Regions from separate parts of the Homo sapiens genome. Here regions 1, 3 and 4 are each linked to region 2. Evidence: promoter capture Hi-C in 16 types of primary human blood cells and fetal thymus (Javierre and others, 2016). All regions are on one chromosome and are shown on one strand. Each heading gives the region's core, a stretch centred on a gene start or on the middle of the fragment in contact. The rest is flanking DNA. Distances are from core to core; before and after follow the strand shown. Region 1 overlaps KIFAP3 (kinesin associated protein 3). Region 2 holds the start of FMO4 (flavin containing dimethylaniline monoxygenase 4). Region 3 has its middle 5.4 kb from the start of SCYL3. Region 4 overlaps KIFAP3 (kinesin associated protein 3).

Region 1 (2,882 bases), core at 258-2,757, 1.2 Mb before region 2:
CCTTGAAACCACCTTTGTAAGACTAATGAAAGGCCCCAATATTAGAATTACGGGAGGGACCTAAATTCTGCTAAGCCAGTAGATGCAGTTAAACGATAACCAGCCATTGTTCCCTAGTTTGCCTTTCTATAATAATCTACTGCTCCAGAGGTCACAAGATTTGTATCTTCCCTAATTGCTCTGATAGATAACAACACTATTGTCAAAACCTAAGATTAGTCTTTGAGATATTTTTCAGACTTTTGTATTCTGGACACTGACTGACTCCACCTGGACCTGTGACTCACACCACTGAACTAATTCAACTGGTTCTGTGATCCCCACCCAGGAACTGACTCAGCACAAGAAGATAGCTAAACCTGCTATAATATCATCCCCAAGTCAATCAATCAGTGTCTCCCATTTCCTAGCCCTCTGCCCTCCAAACTGTCCTTGAAAAACCCTAACTTCCAACTTTTGGGGGAGGCTTGTATGAGTAACACTCCCACCCTGCTGCTTGGCTAGCCCTGCAATTATTAAACTCTTACTCTACTGCAATACCGCTGTCACAGTGAGTTGTTTTTTTCTCTGTAGTGGGCAAGAATAACCCATAGACACACCCATGTGTGTCTATTTCTAGGCTTTTCATTTTATTCAGTTGGTTTACTGAGCTATTTTTACATCGATACCTGAGGGAAGTGTTCCCAACCTGGCTCTTCCATATTTTTCTCAGTATTGCGGGACCTTTCCCTGTCCACTTAAAAATTTAAAATTGTGTTTCAAATTCAGTAAAATACCTTTTGGGATAATGACTGACATAATGAATTTTCAGATTAAGGCATCTATCCATGAAAATGATAAATCTACTTTTAAGATTTAATTTTCTTTTAATGAAATGATATAAATTTCTTTAGAAAGGTGATGCCCATCATTTATTATTAGATTTATTCCCAAGTACCTTATATTGTTATTTGCATTTGTAAATAACTTTTTTGCTAACAATATTTAACCAACTATATCAAAATTCAATTTGGGAGTGGGAGGTATATAGATGTTACATCCAGCAACTGTTGCTTAATACCTTGATATTAATGCCAATAGCTTGAACATTATTTTAGGTTTTCTCTACAAACTAATATATAATTTGTGAATAATATCAGTTTCATTTCTTCTCTTCCTATCTTTATACCTTTTCTATTTCTTATCTTACTACCTGTTTAGGACTCCTGGTGAAATGTTGAGGTGGTTACATAGGTATCCTTGGATCATCCTTAATGTTAAGGGAAATGTTTCTAAAGTTTCCTCATTTACTGATGTTACTTTATTTTTTGAGAAAGGGTCTCACTCTTGTCACCTAGGCTGAAGTGCAGTGGTGTGATCACAGCTCACTGCAGCCTTGCCTCCCAGGCTCAGGCAATCCTCCCACCTCCACCTTCCAAGTAGCTGGGACTACAGGCATGCACCACCATGCCCAGCTAAGTTTTGTATTTTTTATAGAGATGGGGTTTCAACATATTGCCCAGGCTAGTCTTGAACTCCTGGGCTCAAGCGATCCACCAGCCTCAGCCTCCCAAAGTGCTGGGATGACAGGCATGAGCCAACACACCTGGCTAGTTTCCTCATTTAATATGTTTATATCATAATTCCCTTTTATTTATGGCTTTAGTTTTTTCCTTAAATCATGAATGTGTAGTGAATGTCATCAAATGTTTTTCTGCATCCATTGGAGGATCATGTATTGTTCTTCTTTAATTCATAAATATACTACATCAAATTCATTAAATACATAAAACCATACTCATATTCTTAGAATAAGCACAACTTGTTAATGCTGTCTTAAAGCACTGTTAGATTAAATTTGCATCCTTGCTCATTCAGCCTGCAATTTTCCTTTCTAATGTCCTTTTTCTGACTTTCATATGGAGATTATTCTAAAATCTTAATATAAATTAGTTGAGGAGTATCCTTTTTTTTCTAGACTTCTTGGAAGAGTTGTACATAATTGGAAGCATCTGTTTCCCAAAAATTTTGTTAGAATTTGACTTTAAAACTGTCTGGATGTAGCAGATTTTATCAGTATGAAATACTCCTCTGTAGTTTTTACAGTATACGTTTTCTTAAAGCCTATTTTATCTGACATTAATATGGTCATTTTAGCATTCTTATGCTTACTGTTTGATTGCACCCATTTACCATTAACTTACCATGTCCATACTTAAAAGTATATTTTTTGGGGATGACAGATAGTTGGGTCTTGCTTTTCTTTTTTCTTTATAAAAGAAATATTGGTGGCCGGGCGCAGTGGCTCACGCCTGTAATCCCAGCATTTTGGGAAGCCGAGGTGGGTGGATCATGAGGTCAGGAGATCGAGACCATCCTGGCTAACATGGTGAAACCCTGTCTCTACTAAAAAATACAAAAAATTAGCTGGGCATGGTGGCGGGCACCTGTAGTCCCAGCTACTTGGGAGGCTGAGGCAGGAGAATGGCGTGAACCCGGGAGGCGGAGCTTGCAGTGAGCCAAGATCATGCCACTGCCCTCCAGCCTGGGCGACAGAGCAAGACTCCACCTCAAAAAAAAAAAAAAAAAAAAAAAAAAGAAATATTGGTAATCTCTGCCTTTCCATTGGAACATTAAAACCTATGCTGTCTGATACAATAGTCACTAGCTACATGGGTCTATTTAAAATTAAATTTAAATACATTACATTTTAAAAATAATTAAAAATGCAATTCCTTAGCTGTACTAACCACGTTCAAAGTGTTCATTAGCCATACAGCCAGTGGCTATGTATTTGATGATGCAGCTGTAAGTCATTTCCATCAGGGAAGAAAGTTCTATTGGACATTATTGTTTTGGATCATTTAATGCAATGACTGACATACTTAGATTCAGATCTATCA
Region 2 (2,991 bases), core at 116-2,615:
CATCTTTTAAGAACTGTAACACTCACCACAAAGGTCCGCAGCTCCATTCTTGAAGTCAGGGAGACCAGGAACCCACCGGAAGGAACTAACTCTGGACACAATATTTTTTTTTCTTTTTTTAAATTTTTTTCTTTATTTCTTCTAAAAAAAAGTGGGATGCATGTGCAGAACGTGCAGGTTTGTTGCATAGGTACACGTGTGCCATGGTGATTTGCTGCACCTATTGACCTGTTCTCCTCTAAGTTCCCTCTCCTCACCCCCTACCCTACAACAGGCCCTACAACATTCCCCTCTCTGTGTCCATGTGTTCTCATTGTTCAACTCCCACTTATGAGTGAGAACATGCAGTGTTTGGTTTTCTGTTCCTGTGTTAGTTTGCTGAGGATGATGGCTTCCAGCTTCATCCATGTCCCTGCAAAGGACATGATCTTATTTCTTTTTATGGCTGCATAATATTCCATGATATTTTTCAAAAGAAAATATTTGCTGCCAACAGAAGATTTTATATTAAAATCTGTATTTGCAGCTTTTACTGAAAAGAACCTAAGGCCTTGCCATATTGGGCTCATTTTCTCAAATAGCAACATTTAGCTGAACTGAATAGACAGAGAAAGTACTTTCCAGTCAGATCATATCTGGCCCACTTTCCTCGTGTATGTTACCCTCCTCACTCCTGTAGGCATTTGCATGTGTAGTCACAAGCAAATGTGGTTTAGAAATTGTTCAGTGAACCATGTTGGAAAATGTCCCTAAACACAAGTCCTAAAGATGGTCTGTTATATTATCTTACAAGCACACAGTGGAAGGAAAAACAGTTAAGTTTTCTATTTCTGCCACAGCTTCTATAATTATTACCTTTCTTGTGCCCTAGGTTAATATCTAAAAATAGCTTTATGCTTTCTCAAACACATTTCACCAGCTCCCTCTGCTGATCCAATCTGAAGGACAAAACAGCTTAAATTCCTTGTAAGTCCTGAACTTTAAAATCACATTTCTGGGGTTGGAGAACTCCAAGCATGAAAGAACTTGATGAGGTAATGGTCATCTAAATAACTTTCTCCTTTGGACAGCTCCTATGGTAATCCAAGCAAGAGTCAGGGTGTAGAAGTTTGTTTCCAAAAGTAGAACTCCTGTTTCGCTGAGAAAGCTGTAATTTGGGGTGATTTGGCGCCCTCTACAGACTATAATGGCAAAAGCGACGCTATCATGTGCTTCCCATAGCTTTAGGGCTTTGCCAGAACTATGACGTTGAGGAGGGTGGGGTAAAGGGGCAGGAAGCGTTTATGTTCTGCCAATCCAACAGCTGTATTCTAACTCACCATTCCGCCCTCCCTTAAGATCACGGAAGTATCACGCTTGCCTCTTACACAACTTTTTTTCCTTAGTCTGTATACTTTCTGCTGTCACTAGCATAACAGAAAAGACGAATGGCTTTTGTTTTAAACTGAGGGCACTTTTACAAAAGTCATCTTTCCATTTATTTTTCTTTCAGAAAAAAGAATTTGGGTTTTGAGCTTTTTTAAAAAAAAAAGACAAACACTTTCCTTGACTTTGAGAAATAATTTAAGTCAAAGAATCTGCTCTATGCTAACCAAGGTAAGTGTCCTGGATTTTTTTTTTAATGGGGAAATGATCCAGAAACTGCTTTCACAAAAGATGAATGTTTTTCTTGGAGTGTGTTCCTTAAGAATGAATGTGATTATCTTCTTTTGGGGTCTCTTGACTAGGGCTAAAGCAAGAGAATTAAGGAGAGAGTCAGGAAGCAAAGGGAAGTTGTAAGGAAACAAAGTTATGTTGTGGACAGAACCATCCAAAAGGAAAGTGTCAGTGAGATAAACAGAATCATGAGACTTTCAGTGACTCCAGTGACCTCTGATTTCATCTTATGAATGAGATGGAAATGCCAGCCATTGGGAAACAAATACCCCATAGATGGCGTGGGAAAAAAATACTGTAACAAAGCAAGAGCATGGTAGGATGATGATAAGAAACATAAAATGATCAAATTTCAAATTCAAAGAAATCATAATTGATTACATGATTTGCAAATCACCCAAGTCTCTCCATGTCTCATAAAGGATTCCTACATTTGCTGGTCAGTCAGGTATAGGGTGGGGTTTTCCCGTTGTACAAAGGTCTAGTTCAATAGGTCAGGTCTCCTTTCTGCCAAGGGACTAAATATAAGCAACCTATGGCTGGCACGGTGGCTCACGCCTGTAATCCCAGCACTTTGGAAAGCCGAGGAGGGCAGACCACTTGAGATCAGGAGTTTGAGACCAGCCTGACCAACATGGTGAAACCCCGTCTCTACTAAAAATACAAAAATTATCCAGGCGTGGTGCCGCCTGCCTGTAGTCTCAGCTACTCAGGAGGCTGAGGCAGGAGAATCACTTGAACCCAGGAGGTGGAGGTTGCAGTGAGCCGAAATTGTGCCACTGCATTCCAGCCTGGAAGACAGAGTGAGACTCCAACTCAAATAAATAAATAAATAAATATAAGCACCTTTGAGCAACCAAGTACCTTATGAAGTCCACTTTATAGTTTGCAGAGTTTGCACACACGTTCTCCCAATCCTTCAAGCCTGCAGTATTCTCGCCTACCTTTGAATTCATATCTTTTTTTTTTTGTGCACCAATTACTTGGTTTTCAGACATAAGAACAGTCCTTTCAAGCTTGAAGGAAACAAAGAGAAAGCCACTTGAACCCTCTGTTTTACAAATGTGGAAGCACTGGCTCAGAGAAATTGAGAATTGTGTCCAGGGTTACAAGCTGCTTAGAGGCAGAAGCAGAACTAGAACTCAGATCTCTCAATTTCCAGTTCACTCACTACCTTCCTCTACTGACTCAAGGCAAAATTTAAAAAGGTTGCTCCCATTCAGAAATTTATAGTCTGTAAATACGGATTAATTTTAAAAGGTGCTAATTCCCAATTTGTTTCTACTGCCTGTAGAGTCTCTAAGTCAGTCCTTAAAGTGCTTTTGCCCAGCACGT
Region 3 (2,741 bases), core at 189-2,688, 1.4 Mb before region 2:
TGAAAATTCTACTTGAATGCAATTTATCAGAGACAGCTCCCCTGAAAACACTGTCTAAAACAGCACCTTACCTGCCTCTTCCTGTCTTTTGACTTTGCCTTATTTTGCTTAACACCAATGCACATATTTGTTCAGCATCTCTGTCCCACAGCTAGAACATCAGCTCCCTGAAAACAGGGCTTCCTTCCTTCATTTCTTTCTTTCCTGCCATATTTCTAGCACATAACACAGTGCCTAGAACATACTAGGTACTCAGTAAATATTAAACACACAAATGAATTTACTGAGAGCACACTGCATGTCCCAGGCACCCTCCCTACATCTCTCTGCCTCCCAGCCCTTACCCCACAGAGCCCTCTATAGCTCTGGTTCCAGTTCTCAGTTCCCTGGAGCTGCTCTCTGAGCTCCTTCTGCCTTTCTTATGCATAGAAATCTTGTATTCCCTCACTGATTCCTCAGTCCTCATTTTAAATATGTCTAAGGCCAGGAAAGAAAAGAATCTCCAACAACCTGAATCCGCTGTCCTTGGAATGTGGCTGGTGGGACAGTTAGAAACAAATAGTTTGTTTTCTTAATAGAAATAATTTTTTCTTGTCATACTGTTTAAGGATCAACCTGAATTTTACTTCCAACCAATCCTCTTCTTAATTCAAATCAAAACATGTCAATGGTATTCAGCTTGACTTTTAGGTGTTTTTTTAATTAATCTTTTTCATGTTTCTAACTTAGATTCCCAAGTAGACTATAAGTATCTTGGATATATTCCTGGTTCTATAAAAGCCTTAGCCATCCAACTTAATTATTTTTTTCCAACTTGATTTGAACTAACTTTTTTACAAGCTCTACCTGAAAACCAAAGAGAGTAAAAGTTATTCAAGTGATTTCTATTTAATGTTCTACCTCAATAATTTGTGTAATTGCATAATTGCAATTAGAATCTGGAAGTGTAAAGGGGGAAACTTGCATGAATGACAAACCCTCCTTCAGGCACATTTCAGATAAATACATATAGCATCCATAAGTAGTGGATACCTTATAGAAAACTGAACTGGACCTAAGCCACTTTGTTCTCTCGTTGTTTTTAGGAACTTTGCATAGATATTGGAAGATTTCTCTAATGAGAAGTATGTGTTTTCTAAGTTCCACCATAACCTTGCTACCACTACAAAGAGAGAATGAAAGCAAGTCTGAGGTGGGATTCTACACATTCACACGTTTATTAGCAAGGTTTAAAGACAGGCAGTAGAGCTGTTATACAAACTCAGTGAGGTTCCACTTCCTTGTGTAGGAGCTTGAATAGCATCTTGCATGAAAGGTCCATCCACTGCAGGAAGATGGGACAGTATTCTAATAGCAGACTCAGCTATCCTCATTAGAGCTGGGTGACAAAATCTTCTTGTAATCTTCTCCATATGGGGCTGGTCTGAAATCCTAAATCTAGGGCACCTTTCCAAAGTGTGTAGATTGCTAGACTCACTAGATTCTCATACTCTGATCATGTAAGGCATGGCAACATTTCTATTCATTCTGTCCATCTTGAAATTACTTATTTTGGCCATGAAAATTCACTTTTAAACATCCTTAAAGCCACTAGTATTGATCTGAGTTAGAGATAGCTGAAGTGTTTGTAGTATCTGCCCCAGGAGTATAGACTTCTCATTGAAATCTTTCAGATGCTAAAAGCCTCTGAAGTGTGAATTGCTTCTCAACTTCAAAGAGCCATGAATCATCTTGGAATCATACTCCTGGGAGAAAGATTTGGGGCAAACAATGTGTGCATTATATATCTACCTCTTCTTTGAAATACTTCAGCCTTCAGGGAGATACAGATGTGTACTAACTTAGATCTATCCTGTAGGGGTGGTTAATTAATATTTGAAGGCAACATGAGCATCCTCTGGAAGCATGTTAAAAATGCAAAAGCTGAGGCCTCACGCTAGATTGTCGAGTCAGAATCTACATTTTAACAGGATCTTTAGGTGATTTGCAGGCACCTTCCTTGCAGGAAGGTTTGAGAACTGCCCTAAATGATCTAAGGCCTCCCTCCTTTGGCCTCACTGCTATCCTCCTGCTCACTAACTCTGGTCCATGCTCAGTGGCCTCCTTGCTGTCCTGTCAGCATGCCAGGTGAGCTCTTGCCTTAGGACTTTTGCTCTAGCGCTTCCTTTTCCTGTCATTCTCTTTTCCCACATGTCCATTTGACTAAGTCTGTTACTTCTATTTTTTGTTCAGATCTCGTCTTCTCAATGAAGTCTGTCCTGATCCACCCTATCTAATTCTACAACGTTTACCTTCCTTCCTGCTACACTCCTGGTGCTTCCTATCCTGTTTTCTTTTGCTTTTTCCCTCCATAGCACTGACCGTCTTATAAACAGCCATATACTGTATTTTCTAGATTGTAAAAACTATAGTTTTTCACATTTTAACATCCCTGAAGGTCAGAATGCATTTTACCACAAATGGCATAATATAATTTGTCAATAATTTTTTCTTAGTGGTACCAAATATATTGATGCTTCCTAAATGTGATGGCATCATATATTTGATGAAATATGACAATTTGCTTATGTATTATGGCTTTTGGTTTTGAGAGAAAACAATTATCTGAAACTTTAAAATAGGCAAAAGAGGTTACTGTGGCTTTCTTCCCATGCAATTCTGGATTAAATTCCTATTGACTAGGTTATTTTACTACTTCTTTATTACCTTTTTAGGGGCAGAGGCTAACTTTTTCATTTTCA
Region 4 (2,837 bases), core at 336-2,835, 1.4 Mb before region 2:
TTATGTGTATTTATACTTTGTACACATGATAAATAATAAAACAAGCTATTTAGTATTGAGATTGCTGAATAGGAAGCAAAGAGACAGCCTATGTCATTGACTAAGTCACTTAACCTCTCCTGGCCAGTTTTTTTGACTGCAAAAATTAGAGTTGGACAGGGTTGCTTCTAAGGCCTTTTCCAGCTTTAATATTTTATGGTTAAAATAGAAACTAAGACAAATAAATGTATGTTTTCAGAAAGATCAAAGGCATAAACATACCTCAGATTTACATCTCCTAAGGGGCATCATATACTTCCTTACACATAGCAGGTAGTCAGGAAAATATCTGTTGATTACATTTAAATTTTTTATGTGATTGGTTTCTTAAATAAGTAGATGGAATGAGTTATTTCAAAGGCCTTTTCCAAATGTTATCTTCTGCTTAAAATGTAATTTAAGCCACATAAATAGTGTAGTTAGATCAATGAGATTTTAAATTCAAGAACAGAAGTCTTATCTTTGATCTATGTATTCCCTTTGAAGCTTCATATTTTCTCCCATAGCAGGTGATCATGGAACTATCTCTGATTATAGTTATTATTATGGTTATTTCTTTGCTCAGCTTTTCAAGTAGAATTGAACATTTTTTTAATATGAAAACACTGAACTATTTTCAAAACCCATTATGAATTATATAATGTCTCTCCATTTCTTGCTATCTAAATGTACGTTATAAGAACAAGTGAACAATTGGGAACTGGGTACCCAAGTGAGTGAAATATTCTGTTCCTTAGTTTTCCTTAATGCGACTTTTAATTAGCTTTCCCATGCTTTAGATACTAAATTTATGAAGAATAAAAGTTAAAAGCCAAATGCTAATCTTGTATCACTGCTTGTCTTGTATACTACTTGTCCTAGGATTTCTATATTACAACTAGGAAGATATGAATTAAAACCACCAAAGAGACTATAACCATAAATAACTTATGACATATGTTCCATTATTAATTGAAAACTCATAGTTAATAAACTTTGGGAAGGAAACTTTCAGGCACATGGCATGGAATATGAAGGTGATGTTCTTTTTATAAATTTTAAAGGTAGCATATATTATACAAATTACTCAAGAGTTTACAAGCAGAAAAAAAGGAGAAAAAATAAAATTCACGCGCACCCTATATTAACATGTAATTCGTAGTGAAATGTGTGAAATATAAACACATGACTTTCACTTATTCATTTTCACTTTACGCTTTTTAATTGAAATTAAATTAGTCACTTAACATACATAATGCAGTGTTTGTTTTCCAGTCTAGTAGCTTTTCAGCATTCAGTTTTGTGGCTCATGGGAAATGTTACTTAGCATCAAGATGTGGTTTGATGAGTGAACAATGTCAGTATCAACTGTACTTAACAGAAGACAGAGGGGCTGGGGTTAATCTGCAGCTAACAACATATAAAAATAAAAACAAACACAGACCCACAATAACATCAACATGCATTATTAGGCAAAGATCCAAAATTAACCCAACCCACACAGATTTCTTCTAAGCTGAGATTACACATGGAAACAGATACTTTATCAAGATCCATAGCCATAGTAGTAAGGTTCATCAGGGCGGAATCCATATGCTGTGGCAGGGCGTCCAAGAATGCCAACTGGTTGGCCAAAGCCATCCATTCCAAGGCTAAAAAAGAAAAAAAAGAATGATAAGCTATGTTTTTCATCACACATCCACAATGCAGATTAAGAGGCCTACATTTTTATACCACCAAGATTCTCTTCCTAGCAGGGATAGTGATTTAGGTGGATATCATTAACTTTTTTTTTTAAGGTTAATAGAGCCATTAAAAGTGTATATAATAAAATACTTCTAACAATGTGTGTTAAAAGTATGGGAAACCTCTGTCAGTAGGTACTATTTGAAACAAAGTGGAAGAATCAAATCAGAAAAGTTTTATTTAATAAATTACTTATATATGGCTCTTAAGCAAAAATATGAAAAGATTTTACATGCTAGCAATGATCAGTAATATATTGCTAGGGAATGATAAAAATAAAACTGTAGTAAAGTGAGTTTTGCTGTTTATAATGTCTTTTCATATGAAGATACAGGACTAATTCCACTTTTAGTAAAAACATGTGTTTGAGTTATATCAGTGAACTCTCATGCAGGGCCAAATCATACCATAAGCCTATGATTAAAAGAACAAGATAAGGAATTTGACAAAATTTGAAAATTAGTCAGATTTGATCTGCAAATCCTTCCTCTGATTCCTCAATGCAAACAATTACAAAACATATCTATTTCTTTTGAGTGACAGCAAGACAATTACAAATTTTGGTTCAACTTATTCTATGGGAATAACAGAAACCCAAAGATAACCTTCAGAGTTGTAAAGATAGCTTGAAGTATGTTAAACTTCATGATTATTATTTTAAAAAAATTACTTGTTGGTCTATTAATACATTATTTAGAGGAAAATCTGTTCTCCAAAGTCCTTTTTAAAGGTCAGGGAATTATCCAACACTTAGGAAAATGATAAAGTATTTATTTTGCCAGGCAGAACATGGTGGCCTTAACATGCTCATGCATAGCTCATGCAGTGAATGCTAGTGAGCTTGACTTCCAATCAATGGACACCATTTGTAATGCAGAAATGTAAGCTTTGGAAAAATAAAACATATTTAAATGATTTAAGATTTAAGTTTGCACTACATGAGATGGAAAGATAATTTTCCCTCAATAGCAAAAACTGAATGTGATGAAAAAATATATTCACATAGGCACTAACTCCCTGTCACACTCAGAGTGAGATTAAGTTGACACACTTTAGAAGTAACTATTAAAATG

The links. Contacts are between HindIII fragments. The CHiCAGO score rates a contact against its expected background, and 5 or more counts as called.
Region 1: a contact is called between a fragment that was not itself captured here and the fragment with the promoter of FMO4 in region 2, in 1 of 17 cell types (total B cells). The highest score is 5.2, in total B cells.
Region 3: a contact is called between a fragment that was not itself captured here and the fragment with the promoter of FMO4 in region 2, in 3 of 17 cell types (naive B cells, total CD8 T cells and naive CD8 T cells). The highest score is 8.7, in naive B cells.
Region 4: a contact is called between a fragment that was not itself captured here and the fragment with the promoter of FMO4 in region 2, in 4 of 17 cell types (naive B cells, total B cells, naive CD4 T cells and 1 more). The highest score is 10.1, in naive B cells.

The regions. Positions count from the first base shown.
Region 1 is chr1:170,063,063-170,065,944 of GRCh38, forward strand. All of the region lies in intron 1 of KIFAP3 (kinesin associated protein 3), which reads right to left. Among named protein-coding and RNA genes, the nearest start is that of KIFAP3, 10 kb to the right of the region's middle. The HindIII fragment of the contact is 4,323 bases long and covers 1-2,882 here.
Region 2 is chr1:171,312,818-171,315,808 of GRCh38, forward strand. FMO4 (flavin containing dimethylaniline monoxygenase 4) reads left to right here and starts at 1,366. Exons shown (of 10, transcript NM_002022.3): 1 at 1,366-1,596. The HindIII fragment of the contact is 2,730 bases long and covers 1-2,670 here.
Region 3 is chr1:169,897,966-169,900,706 of GRCh38, forward strand. No RefSeq gene overlaps it. Among named protein-coding and RNA genes, the nearest start is that of SCYL3, 5.4 kb to the left of the region's middle. The HindIII fragment of the contact is 5,358 bases long and covers 1-2,741 here.
Region 4 is chr1:169,920,112-169,922,948 of GRCh38, forward strand. It overlaps KIFAP3 (kinesin associated protein 3), which reads right to left. Exons shown (of 20, transcript NM_014970.4): 20 at 1,218-1,670. The coding sequence ends at 1,565. Among named protein-coding and RNA genes, the nearest start is that of SCYL3, 28 kb to the left of the region's middle. The HindIII fragment of the contact is 2,125 bases long and covers 524-2,648 here.